2 separate regions of the Homo sapiens genome follow, and region 1 is linked to region 2. The links are contacts of gene promoters, found by promoter capture Hi-C in human tissues and cell types (Jung and others, 2019). All regions are on one chromosome and are shown on one strand. The core of a region is centred on a gene start or on the middle of the fragment in contact, and the rest is flanking DNA. Distances in the headings are between cores, read along the strand shown. Region 1 holds the start of LOC124900830 (a long non-coding RNA gene). Region 2 holds the start of FAM149A (family with sequence similarity 149 member A).

Evidence for each region. The method cuts DNA at HindIII sites, captures the fragments that hold promoters and counts their contacts. A contact is called where the count stands out against the background at its distance.
Region 1: a contact is called between a fragment that was not itself captured here and the fragment with the promoter of FAM149A in region 2, in 2 of the 25 tissues and cell types used here (bladder and spleen).

The regions. Positions count from the first base shown.
Region 1 is chr4:186,022,736-186,028,867 of GRCh38, reverse strand. LOC124900830 (a long non-coding RNA gene) reads left to right here and starts at 5,903. Exons shown (of 3, transcript XR_007058420.1): 1 at 5,903-5,940. It also overlaps the pseudogene RNU4-64P. RefSeq lists an enhancer at 559-1,758. The HindIII fragment of the contact is 3,937 bases long and covers 1,666-5,602 here.
Region 2 is chr4:186,103,454-186,109,599 of GRCh38, reverse strand. FAM149A (family with sequence similarity 149 member A) reads right to left here and starts at 4,896. Exons shown (of 14, transcript NM_001395294.1): 1 at 3,958-4,896. The coding sequence starts at 4,523. It overlaps LOC124900171 (a long non-coding RNA gene), which reads right to left and starts at 1,906. Exons shown (of 2, transcript XR_007058421.1): 1 at 1,865-1,906. RefSeq lists a silencer at 4,917-4,976. The HindIII fragment of the contact is 14,554 bases long and covers 963-6,146 here.

The DNA of each region.
Region 1 (6,132 bases), core at 2,385-4,884, 79 kb after region 2:
TCACCCAGGCTGGAGCGCAGTGGCGCAATCTTGGCTCACCGCAAGCTCCACCTCCCAGGTTCACGCCATTCTCCTGCCTCAGCCTCCTGAGTAGCTGGGACTACAGGCACCGCCACCATGTCCGGCTAGTTTTTTGTATTTTTAGTAGAGACGGGGTTTCACTGTGTTAGCCAGGATGGTCTTGATATCCTGACCTTGTAATCCGCCTGCCTCAGCCTCCCAAAGTGCTGGGATTACAGGCGTAAGCCACCACGCCCAGCCAGGTGTCAGACTCTTAGTTAATCTCTCCTAGATCGGGAAAGGCCAGGCTGCATGAATGAAGATTCTCTACAAACTTCCTCCATGAAAGATGGCTTTGCAGGGCCATTTCAAAATATGTCAATGAAATATATTTTAAGGTAAAATACACTTGATTTCCTTCAGAGAGTGCTATCTGTCATATGATGCTATACCAGAGTCAGGTTGGAATTTGTTATCTTATTGCCATGGAGTCTGTTTTGTCAGTGTTATGATCTCTGTTTTCATGTTAATGCTGGTCAGTTGTACCTAAACTCCAAAGGGAGGGGGCATAGCGAGGTGTGTCTGACATCCCTTCCCATTGTGGTGGGGAATTCAGTTTTTCAGGCCTCTCTGGTGTATTAGTTTGTTTTGCATTGCTATAAAGGGATACCTGAGACCAGATAATTTATAAAGACAAGTTTACTTTGGCTTACAGTTCTGTAGGCTGTATAGGAAGTGTCTTGCCAGCATCTGCTTCTTGTGAGGCCTTAGGAAGCTTCCAATCATGGTGGAAGACTCAGGGGGAGCCAGCGTATCACAAGGCAAGAGAGGGAGCAAGAGAAAGAGCAGTGAGGTGAAACTGCTTTTGGAAAGATGATGACAGTGAGAGAAATCTGACATAGGTGACTCCATCTTGCTTCCGACCTCCAAGCTGTCCTTGGTCATTCCTGGATGTAAGCCAAGCTAACCTTGGGAAAAATTTAGTTTATAGTTTAACCTTAAGACAAGGATGATAACAGCCCTTCCCAGAACTGAACCACCTTTCTAGAACCAATGAAAGACCTCATGGTTAGGATTATGGGAGGGGCCTGAACCTGCTAAGAGACAGGTGTTGTTCCTACAATCCCTAACTACTCAGGGGTCACGTGGCCAGGGGTCACAAGATTTGAGACCTTCTCAATTGCTCCTATGGATGACATCACTACTGTAGAACCTAAGATGGGTTTTCTGAGATGTGTTTCAGACACACCCCACCTGGACTCCTGACTCCTGACTCACCTGATCCTGTGGCTCCACCCAGCAGCTGACTCAGAGCACGGGGATTGTTTCTGCACCCTGTGATTTCATCCCCAACCAATCGGCAGCGCCCATTCCCTAACTCCCCGCCCACCAAATTGTCATAAAGACTCTAACCTCTGAGCCTTCAGAGAGACCAATTTGAATGATAGCTCCAGTTCTCCCATGTGGTCCGGCTTCGTGTCAGTTAAACTCTTTCTGTACTGCAATGCTGTGGTCTCAGTGGATTGATTTTGTCTGTGCAGCCAGCAAGAAGAAACTGTCTGGCAATCACAGAGGTGCCGGGTTATTTTAGACAACCAGCTCTCCCATGAACTGATACAGCAAGAACTCACTCATTACCATGAGGATGGCACCAAGCCATTCATGAGGGATACATCCCATGACCCAAACACCTCTCACCAGGCCCCACCTGCAACATTGGGGATTACATCAGCATGAGATTTGGAGGGGACACACATCCAAACCATATCATTTGAGGTCTCCTTGGCTCAGAAGGGATCCATTCAGTCGGTTGAGGGCTTAGAGTTTTAGTTTTTGTTTACACGAGGCATGAGCGGAACTTATAAATGAATGGGGCAGAGGAGGACATTAAATAAGTAAAAATAAACCACCATTATGTGTATTTTGTTTTGTTGTAACTGCTGTGGCACTGTAAAGGAAATGAACAGGGCCTCTGACGTAATGGTATTTAGTGGGATGAGAGGTGCAGTAGAAATTATGGACTGGCTTTTCAGCTCCTGTTCCAACCCATTTATGGAATCACTTTCTGAACTACAGCTAGAATGCCTGTTTGAACTGCAGAGGCAGAGAAGAAAGAGAAGAAAGAAAGGACAAGAGAGATGAAAGGGAAGGAAGGAAGGGAGGGAGGGAGGGAAGGAAAGAAAGATGGATGAAAATTACACTTCCCAGCCTCTTGTAGCTAAGGTCTGACTGCCCCCCATCCCCTGCTTTGTGAGTCTTAGGTGAAGAAAATGAACAGCATAGCTCTCTGCAGTGGCTGTATCATAGCCAATGAGGTTTATCCAAGGCATGATTATTGCTAATTGAAAATGAGCAGCGCAAGGCAGTGGACCTTGTGAGGAGTTGAGATATTTTCACACACCTGGTGACAGAAGCACTAGATTCTTCTAGACACCTCCGCCAAAGCACTTTGCCTGTTCTCTGGGCTTGTAGGGGCTGAGAGGAAGGTGGTGATAGTGAGCTTTCCACAAAGTGGTGTCACTTTGCCCAGCAGCTATTCCTCCTGCTTGCAAAGCTTCCCAGCTCCCTTCCCCATGGTAACCGCCTTCGCTTTGCATCCATCACAGGATCTTGCACCTGAGTATTTTCCAGGTCTTCCCCCAAGGACAAACAGCGCTTTTGCTTCTTCCCCTCCCCTGAAGCAGTATCTGTGTCAGGGACAGTAGCTGGATTGTCCTTCCCTGTCCAGATCTTCCTCAGGAGCACACAGTGGAGATGGTGGAAAGAGCTAACACTAGGTGAATGCAGGTTCTCCTTGTGTCTCAGGCCCACCGGGGCTTTCTCAACCATCTAGCACACAAGCTCACACTCAGACTTTAAGAATTTGCTACATTCTGGCTGGGTTTTTTGTTTTGTTTTTGTTTGTTTTGTTTCGTTTTGCTTTTTTTGTTTTTGAGACGGACTCTCACTCTGTCGCCCCCCGGACTGAAGTGCAGCGGCGTGATCTCGGCTCATGCAACCTCCGCCTCCCGGGTTCAAGCGATTCTCCTGCCTCAGCCTCCCGAGTAGCTGGGATTACAGGCGCCTGTCACTATGCCTAGCTAATTTTTGTATTTTTAGTAGAGATGGGGTTTCACCATGTTGGCCAGGCTGGTCTCGAACTCCTGACCTTGTGATTCGCCTGCCTCGGCCTCCCAAAGTGCTGGGATTACAGGCGTTAGCCACCGCACCCGGCCCATCCTGGCTGTTTTCTTCCAACCTGCTTTTACGGCTGCTCCATCCACCCTCCTCTCACACTCTGCCAAGGGTGAAACCATCTGTGCGGCCCGATTCTCCCCGAGGGACCTGTCACTCCTCAGAACTGACTTCACTTGCTTGCCTTGCAACCTCAGCTTTCTGAAGTGCTCAAGAAAAGTTGGCACTGTGAAGATCACATGGCTTTTCCTCCTTGCTAAGGTGGGAGTGACATCTTTGTAAAGCCATCTACATATGAAGTGAAAACAGGATTCCCTGTTTCTGTTTCAAGATCCCACATGGGTGGTCTGAAGTTTAGTTCCCTCCCAGCAAGGGATCAACAGCATCCATGCTGCCAAAAGCTTCAGAAATGAACTCTGTGTTAACTCCGCGCATCTTTGAAGGGCCTACTATTTGCACATCACTCTACGAAGAGCTGAGATACTGAGATGAATGAGGCACAATCCTTGTCTTACCCTCGCTCACAATCCTGGGGGAGGCAAGGCACAGAAACGAGCGTCATAGAGTCATGAGTGCCGCCCCGAGAGTGGGAGAAACACGGTGGGAACGTGCATCTGAATAAGTAGCAGGCAGGGGCATGAGGAGGCAGAGTTATTTGAGTTGCTTCTTGAATTTTGTGTAAGTTTTCTATACTGAGACAGTAAAGAGGCATTCACAGAAAAGTGTTCCTTCTATTTCTCATTCTCTGATACACAGTTCCATTTCCTGGAAGAGTTTGCCTGGATCAGAACTCTCTAGATCCCATAGGCTGACCTGGTCTTAGCCACAGTGAACTCTGTGTCTGCGTCCTGCAGGTGAACCCAGCATTTCGCAAGGTCAGCGGGTTCTGCGGTGGCAGTATTAATAATAGAAACTTCGCTGCATTTGAATAAAATCAGTATTTTTTTCTTTAAAAAGCTTGATGCCAATATCTAATCTGCTTTCTTTCATATTTGTCCTCTCAATATTTATTTTTATTTTATTTTTTTTTTTTATTTTTTGTTTGTTTTGTTTTTTGGAGACAGGGTCTCACTCGGCCCTAGGCTGCAGCTGGAGTGCAGTGGCGTGATCTCGGCTCACTGCGACCTCTGCCTCCTGGGTTCAAGCAATTCTCCTGCCTCAGCCTCCCGAGTCGCTGAGATTACAGGTGCCTGCCACCATGATTAATTTTTGTATTTTTACTAGAGATAGGGTTTCACCATGTTGGCCAGGCTGCTCTCAAACTCCTGACCTCAAGTGATCTACCTGCGTCGGCCTCCCAAAGTGCTGGGATTACAGGCATGAGCCACCACGCCCCACCTGTCCTCTCAATATTTGTATTAACCTCTATATTTGTTGTCCCTGGAGGGGTGGATGTCTGGATATTAGTTTATTTGTTGGAACCACTGGGGTGTATTTCAGCACTGGTCTGGAAAGAATGGAGAGGCTTCACCGCTGCCAAAGCTCTCCTGGTTCGGCCTCACCTGGACGGTCGACTACATCGGTGCCGAGACAGGAACGGTGCAGCCCAAACAAGGACTCACTACAGTCAGACGCCCACGGGAACAGGGCTCATCAGCCAAAATCTAGTCGTTTTGTGAAAGGTGAGCCTGCGGCACGTTGAATGTAGAGAAGAGTTTTAGCAGAAGGTGTCAAGTCCCAGGCGTTGGAGTCTGGGGATCAGTCTGTGAACAAACCCAGGCTCAGAATCTGGTGAGAGGGGCAGAACAGGAGCAGGAGCCAGGACGGGAGCTGGGTGCCCAGCTGGGCCAGGGTGGGCAGAGTCCAGCCCCGCTGTCCCCTTCACCACCACTGGAGCATCGTTTCAGAAAGCCGTGCACGTCATCCACACAAACACACACAGACCACAGCTTTAAAAGCGGAGCCATACTGAACAAAAAGAGCACAGTCAGTGTGCACGGCAGTCCACACGCATGGTGCAGTGGGATTTACTTTAATGTATTAAACGTGGTAACAATACACACTGGATGGCAACTGTCGGAATAGATATAAAACATGTATGTTACAGGCACAAACCTTGTGATTTTAAGAACTAGAGAAAGATTTTTCAGCAATTGAGAAGTTTCCCTTTTTGTGACCTACTAACTAATGAAACAGGTTGACAAAGAGAGTATCGGACTATAAAAAAGGAGGAAAGACGGATCTTGTAGGAAATTCTGCAGTTTGGTCCCACGTAGGCTGACACACCAATGTTCTCCTGCCTTGATATTTAAGGGTCCCCCTGGGCCGGGGTCAGTGTGTGAGCCCTGCCCTGTACAATTCAATTCTGTTTGCAAACTAAACTGCTGGCCCGTTTGTGGTTGCCTTGGCACTCCTACTTAAGTCTTTTGCTGTTAATATTTTGAAATTTTGAATAAGTATGAAGGTAAAATAGTTGTCAACATTTGCCGGATATGATCTGTTTATATTATTTTATTTATTTTATTTGTTTTGAGACTGAGTCTCGCTCTGTTGCCCAGGCTGGAGTGCAGTGGCCTGATCTTGGCTCACTGCTCCCTCCGCCTTGTGGGTTCAAGTGATTCTCATGCCTCAGCCTCCTGAGTAGCTGGGATTACAGGCTCCCACCATCATGCTCCACTAACTTTTTTTTTTGCTGTATTTTTAGTAGAGACGGGGTTTCATCATGTTAGCCAGGTTGGTCTCAAACTCTTGACCTCAACTGATCTGGTGCCTCGGCCTCCCAAAGTGCTGGGATTACAGACATGAGCCATCGCGCCTGGCCACCAGGTATGATCTTAACTATTTTAAAGGTCATTATAAAAGAACTTTCCTTAAAAATCACTTTAAGCAAATGTTTCCTTATTAGAAGTGTTCCTTTGCATCCCATTTCCCTACTGAAGCATATGAAAAGGCATTTTCTCTTGTTTTGTTTCTGAATCTGATATTTCATTGAGAATATTTTTCTTGCAAGGGTGAGAA
Region 2 (6,146 bases), core at 3,647-6,146:
TTATCACCTCCATATTATCAAGAAAGAAAAACTACAGCTAGGGAAGAAATGAATGACCTGCCCAGAATTACTCAGCTAGCAATCGGTTTGAGGTGGAATCCACCTCGTCTGGTTTCCGGGTCTACAGGCTTCATCACACTGGAGGCTGCCTCAGTGTCAGAGGAATCGAGATAAGTCCCTCTAGTCACTTTACTGCCAGCCATGCTGACAGGCCCTTCAAGCAGCCACTGCAATGTTTCCACAGTAATGTGATTTTAACAATGGAACTCAATCACTCAAAAAAAAAAAGAGTGAATATATGCTTGCTAATAACTATGACTTATACAAGCTATAAATACTTCCTGACTAGAAGTTTACACTCTACCAACATTCATACACAGCAATTATCTATCTATCCACCTTACGTATTGCTAGGAATTCTTACATTTGCAGAACAAATAAGAGAATAAGACCGGCCGGGCGCGGTGGCTCAAGCCTGTAATCCCAGCACTTCGGGAGGCCGAGGCGGGCAAATTACAAGGTCAGGAGATCGAGACCATCCTGGCTAACATGGTGAAACCCCTTCTCTACTAAAAATACAAAAAATTAGCCGGGCGTGGTGGCAGGCACCTGCAGTCCCAGCTACTCGGGAGGCTGAGGCAGGAGAATGGCGTGAACCCAGGAGGCGGAGCTTGCAGTGAGCCGAGATCGCGCCACTGCACTCCAGCCTGGGCGACAGAGCAAGACTCCGTCTCAAAAAAAAAAAAAAACCAGAGATTGAGAATAAGACCTTTACAAGGTGTATTGTGTGGTTCAAACCAGAAGTATGAAAAGAGGTAATGAAGAGGGATGAGTGAGACTGAAAAACACTGAGGCATAATATATACATGAAATGGACAGGGAAGCCAAGGTGAAGATCAAAGGTGTTGGATCACGTATCCAGGGATGCAGGAAAGTGAGGTGAAGACAGAGAGATCAGTATCCTCTGCCTCTGGCTCAGATGTGCAGTCAGTACGCCCTGTGGAGCAAAAGGGGCAGCCTCTGTTCCATGGGCCTTTCACTTACGGAATTCTTGGGTCAGAGATTAAAAACCCCTGCTGCTATTCAGCATCTTTGCTTGGAAAAAAGCCTCTAAATTGCAGGAGAGTTTGCATATTTTCCTACTCAAGTTAATTTCACTACTTTTAGTTTTTTGTTTTTTTTTTTTAAAGCCAAGTACAGAATCAGGCAAATGTAAAATGTATGCGTTATTGTCAAAAAAGTACAAACTGCTAATAGGGTTTTCCTTTAGAACTCAGGGCCACAGCTTTAAAATTAGATCCGCATTTCTTGCAGACAGGTTTACGGTTTCCTTTATATGTATTCACATTCTCATCACTCTTTAAACTTTTTCTCTGACATTACCCATTTCTCCCTTTCCAAGTTTCCAGGCTTTTGAAATTTAAATTCCTGATTTTAATATTAACCACACAGGCTAACAGCAGCAGCTATCTGCCAAGTGACAGATGAGATGGTAGGAGCAAATTTAAATTCATTGTCTTATGTTTGTTTATTCGGTGTTATAAATCACTACCACAGAAATCCAGGAGGGAAAAAGAATCCTTCAAGGTGCAAAGTCTGCAGTATTGAAAGAAAAGCCGTCTTAATACTTTCTTCCTTCCCCTTTGTCTCTTATGTTTTAGTGATTGAAAAAGGAGTGGGGTATGATGAGAGGAAGGGAATGTGAGTAGTCGTGGATCTGAAAGGAAAAATGGTATGCTCAGAGGGCCAGTCTGCTTCCTGCCTGTGTGTGCCTCTACCTGCTGCTGCAGACAGTAGGAACACACAAACTCAGGAGGATTCTGCAAAGCACCTAGCTGTGTATATTACTTCTCATGGCACTTACCTAAAATTCAATTTCATGGCCAGATGCAGTGGCTCATGCCTGTAATCCCAGCAATGCCCAGGTGGGAAGATTGCTTGAGGCCAGGAGTTCAAGACCAGCCTGGGCAACATAGGGAGACCCCGTCTCCACAGAAACATTTTTAAAATTGGCCAGGCATAGTAGCTCACACCTGTAGTCCCAGCTACTCGAGAGTCTGAGACGGGAGAATCAGATCGCTTGAGCCTGGGAGGTTGAGGCTGCAATGAACAGTGATCATACCACTGCACTCCAACCTGGGTGACAGAAGGAGACCTCATCTCAAAAAGTAATAATAATTTAAAAATTCAATTTCTTCACTGTCCATAAAATTGAATGCATTTGTTAATTCAGAATAATCTCTTATGTAAATAATGCCAAATGCAGTGTTATTCAAAAAGTATCTATTCCAAATATTTGCACAATATAAACATGAGCTAATATGTTCAAGAATTGAAACTAACACCAGTTTCACTGGCCATGCTGCATATTTCAGTGCCTATTTGTTAAAAGCACTAAGACTAGAGTTTAAGGTCAGTGTGTAGATCTGTTTGCTCATAAAACATTAATTGCATAAATGTTAAGGACCAGTTGCCAATAACAAAGATCTAATTCCTCAGGCATATGTATTCCAGTGAGTTTTCCAAAAGCAATTAACTGATAGGGAAAACTATCAGTTGATAAACATATGTCATAATATAGTATTTTTTAATGAGTGGGAACAACTTTTTGCTTAACTGCTTATTTTCTTTTTTGTTGTTGTTTTTTTGAGACGGAGTCTCTCTCTCTGTCGCCCAGGTTGGAGCGCAATGGTGCGATCTTGGCTCACTGCAAGCTCCGCCTCCCGGGTTCACGCCATCATCCTCTTGCCTCAGCCTTCCGAGTAGCTGGGACTACAGGCACGTACCACCACGCCCGGCTAATTTTTTGTATTTTTAGTAGAGACGGGGTTTCATCGTGTTAGCCAGGATGGTCTCGATCTCCTGACCTCATGATCCGCCCGCCTCGGCCTCCCAAAGTGCTGGGATTACAGGCGTGAGCCACCGTGCCCGGCCGCTTGTTTTCATATTGACATGAATATCATTCAATTTTGTGAAACTGTAATTATTTAAATTGTGAGTGAGTCAGGATCAGTATGAATGCAAAAATTACTCAGGATTTTTTGGAGGGAGTAGGGAATGGCCTCACTAGATTACAATGCAGAAACCTCAGTCTGTGAATTGGCTCATCTGTCTTTGACCATTTCACTATTTCTTTGCAGCATTCAGGATGAAAATTTACCCACTCAAGAATAGCTAACGATATGCTCCACTCTAAAAATTAAAATTCATCCTAGTTCTAAAACACATTTTAAAAGAGCAATGTTTTTATCACGACTCTTGGAAGTGAAAGGGGTGTTGTGTGGGTGTGTGTGTGTTGAGGGAATCGGCCTCCGATTCCCAGTGAAAATGTTCCCATGAAGTCAACGTTTCTGCAGTGACTCAGGGCACTGTGGAAAGCTCTCAGGAGCTCTAGGGTAATAATCAGACGTGTCCTGGCCATTACAACTCCATTTGTGTCAGATGATGTCATGCATATGTAAATTAACTAGATGTCACACAAAGGAGACCCATCCCACTTAGGATAAGACTAGGGACTGGTCCTTAGACATTAGGAAAGCACCAGGTCTCACCACTTCTTAAAACACTTGCTGCAGACGTGTGTATTCGGTTTCCCTGCACACCTGCTATATTCTGAGACAAAGAAAGGGACTTCAAAAAGTCCTTAAGAAAACCAAACAAACACTCTAAGTAGCAATGCTTCTGGTAGAAGAGAAACAAAATTCTGTCCCTTCCTTCAAGGCCCCTTAGGATTCACTCTGAGAAAGCTGGACAAAGCATGTCACAGCTTATGTCTGAAAGCCCGCAAAGCCAAGGAGTAAAAACCCAGGAAACGTGCAAGGAGGGTGCCCAGGGGGTTATGAAAGTTACTACAAATATTTCATTTCCTGAAGTGCACCTGCGAAGGTGAGTGCGGCAGGCGGAGGGGTCGGGGGTCCCGGCAAAAGGTACACGCGCCCGGACCACGCTGCTACTCACGCTTCGCCATCCCCGGAGTCGCCGTCCGAGGCCCCCTCCTCGCCGATGTCAGGCAGCGTAAGGAACAGGGTTCTGGGGCCAGCCCCGGGGGCCACGCAGGCGCCGAGCTCTCGCTCTCCGGGGCCAGGCTGGAGCGGGTTCCTGGGGAGCGCGGCCCAGACCCCGCCGGGGCCCGAGGGCGGCCGCGCTGGGACCACCAGGCGAGCAGGGGAGCAGCCCCCGCCGGAGGGAGTGGGGGGCTGGGGCGGGGCTTTACCCGCTCTAGGGCTACTGGGCCAAGAGAGCAGGGTCCCCACTGCTCCCGCGGCGCGGCTGGCGGCGGAGCCCCGGGAGTAGGGGGAGGAGAGCAGCGGGGCGGGCGACCGCCGCGAGGCGGAGGGGGAGTCCGGAGCCAGGGCGCGGAGGAGGGTCGGGGCGGTACCCAACGGGGTGCCCGCCCTGGAGCCCCCCGACCCTGCAGCGGCAGCACCTCCCGAGGGTCTGGAGGAGGGGCCTGCGGGGGGCGCCGTCGAGGTCTCGAAGAGTTTGGCCAAGAGAGACCCAAGGTCCAGCACAGCAGCCTTCATGCCTCGACAGTGGACACGCCGTCCTCGCCGCCGCCCGAGAGTTCAGACCGCGGAGATCCGGCCGAGGCGGCCCGGGCCGGGGCGAGGAGCCTGAGGTCCCCGCACCCGGAGCCCCGGAGGCCCCTGGCTCCCTCTCCTCCCCGAGGACGCTCAGCTCCGCGCCGCTGGGGTCGCCCTTCCCCGGCCCGGGTCCGTCCGCCGAGCGCCCCGGCTGCGGAGAGCAGCCCCGCCTCGTCCCAGCGCCGTGAGACCCCCGAGGGCCGAAGGGCCAGGAGCCCCGGGAAGCGCGGCCGCCGCCCGCCCCAGACGCCCGCCGCCCGCCGCCCGCCGCCCGCGGTTGCTACGTTCAACACACCCGGCCGCGCTCCAGGCTAATTGGGCCCCAGGTGCGGCTCGGGCTGTGCCCGCGGGGGACGTCCCACTCCCCGCCTGGTTCCGCCTTAAAGGAACACGCCCCCATTTCCCCTGCGCCCCGAGCCTCGCAGATCCCATCCGCCGAGCTCAGGGCCCAGGGCTGGGAAAGAGAATCCTGGCTCCAGAAGGTTCTGGAACTTACCCAGCCTGACAAGCTTGCACGTGCTGGGGTCAGGCCACCTCTCTGACGATAGGGAAGGTGGGTAGAAAGATGTATTTGGGCGAACGAGCTTGAAACAGCAGCATCCACTCCCCCACCCCAGGGTCCTACTCAAACCCTGTTACTAAGGGTGGGGTGGGAGCAACCGCGAGGTGCGCCACCCACTAACCTGCAAACAAGACCGGCTCTGAGAGCTGAAGTAGAAAGACCTACGCACACCTGTTTAAACACCTGTCGGAGTGAACCAAGAGACTGTGTAATTCAAATGTTTGAGAACTCAAATTATAATCGGAACGACTACAAATTCAAAGACAGATATGGAAGGCAACGTTTTCTATTCAGTGGAATAAATTGTATTTTGCTTAATCTGAAAAATATGTGTGAAAGGTAGAGCGTATAGGTGCGAGCATCTAAAGGGGTGTGGGGTCAGTGTTGAACAGAGTTAAAAAATAAGATACTGCAGCCAGGCTCGGTGGCTCATACCTGTAATCCCAGCACCGGGATTGGGAGGTGGGAGGATGGCTTGAGCCCAGGAGTTCCAGGCCAGCCTGGGCAACAACATAGGGAGACCCCATCTCTACAAATATTTAAAAAAAAAAAAAATGCCGGGCCTGGTGGCGCATGCCTGTAGTCCCAGGTACTCGGGAGGCTGAGGTGATCGCTTGGGCCTGGAGTGAGCCGTGATCGCACCACTGCATTCCAGCCTGGGCAGTAGAGTGAGACCCTGTGTCAAAAAAATAGTAATGAGATATTGATGGAGTTTGTCCATTAATATTCAGGAGAGGATCTCAGGAGATACATTTCCTGATGTGGGGTAGGGAAAAGAGATGAATTAAGTCTGGCAGTGAATAAACTGACATTCATGCTTATATACTTGAATCTTTTGTAAGTTATCAAACTGGAGTCTGAGCCACGGTAAACTTCCAGGTAATGCTAAGTTTTGCGTTATTTGGAGGCAGTTAACAAGTCTTCTGTCATGATCCCTTTTCTACATCTAACTGCCACCAACATGTACTGGGCACTTGTCTGCTTCAAGATTGCATTAAGCA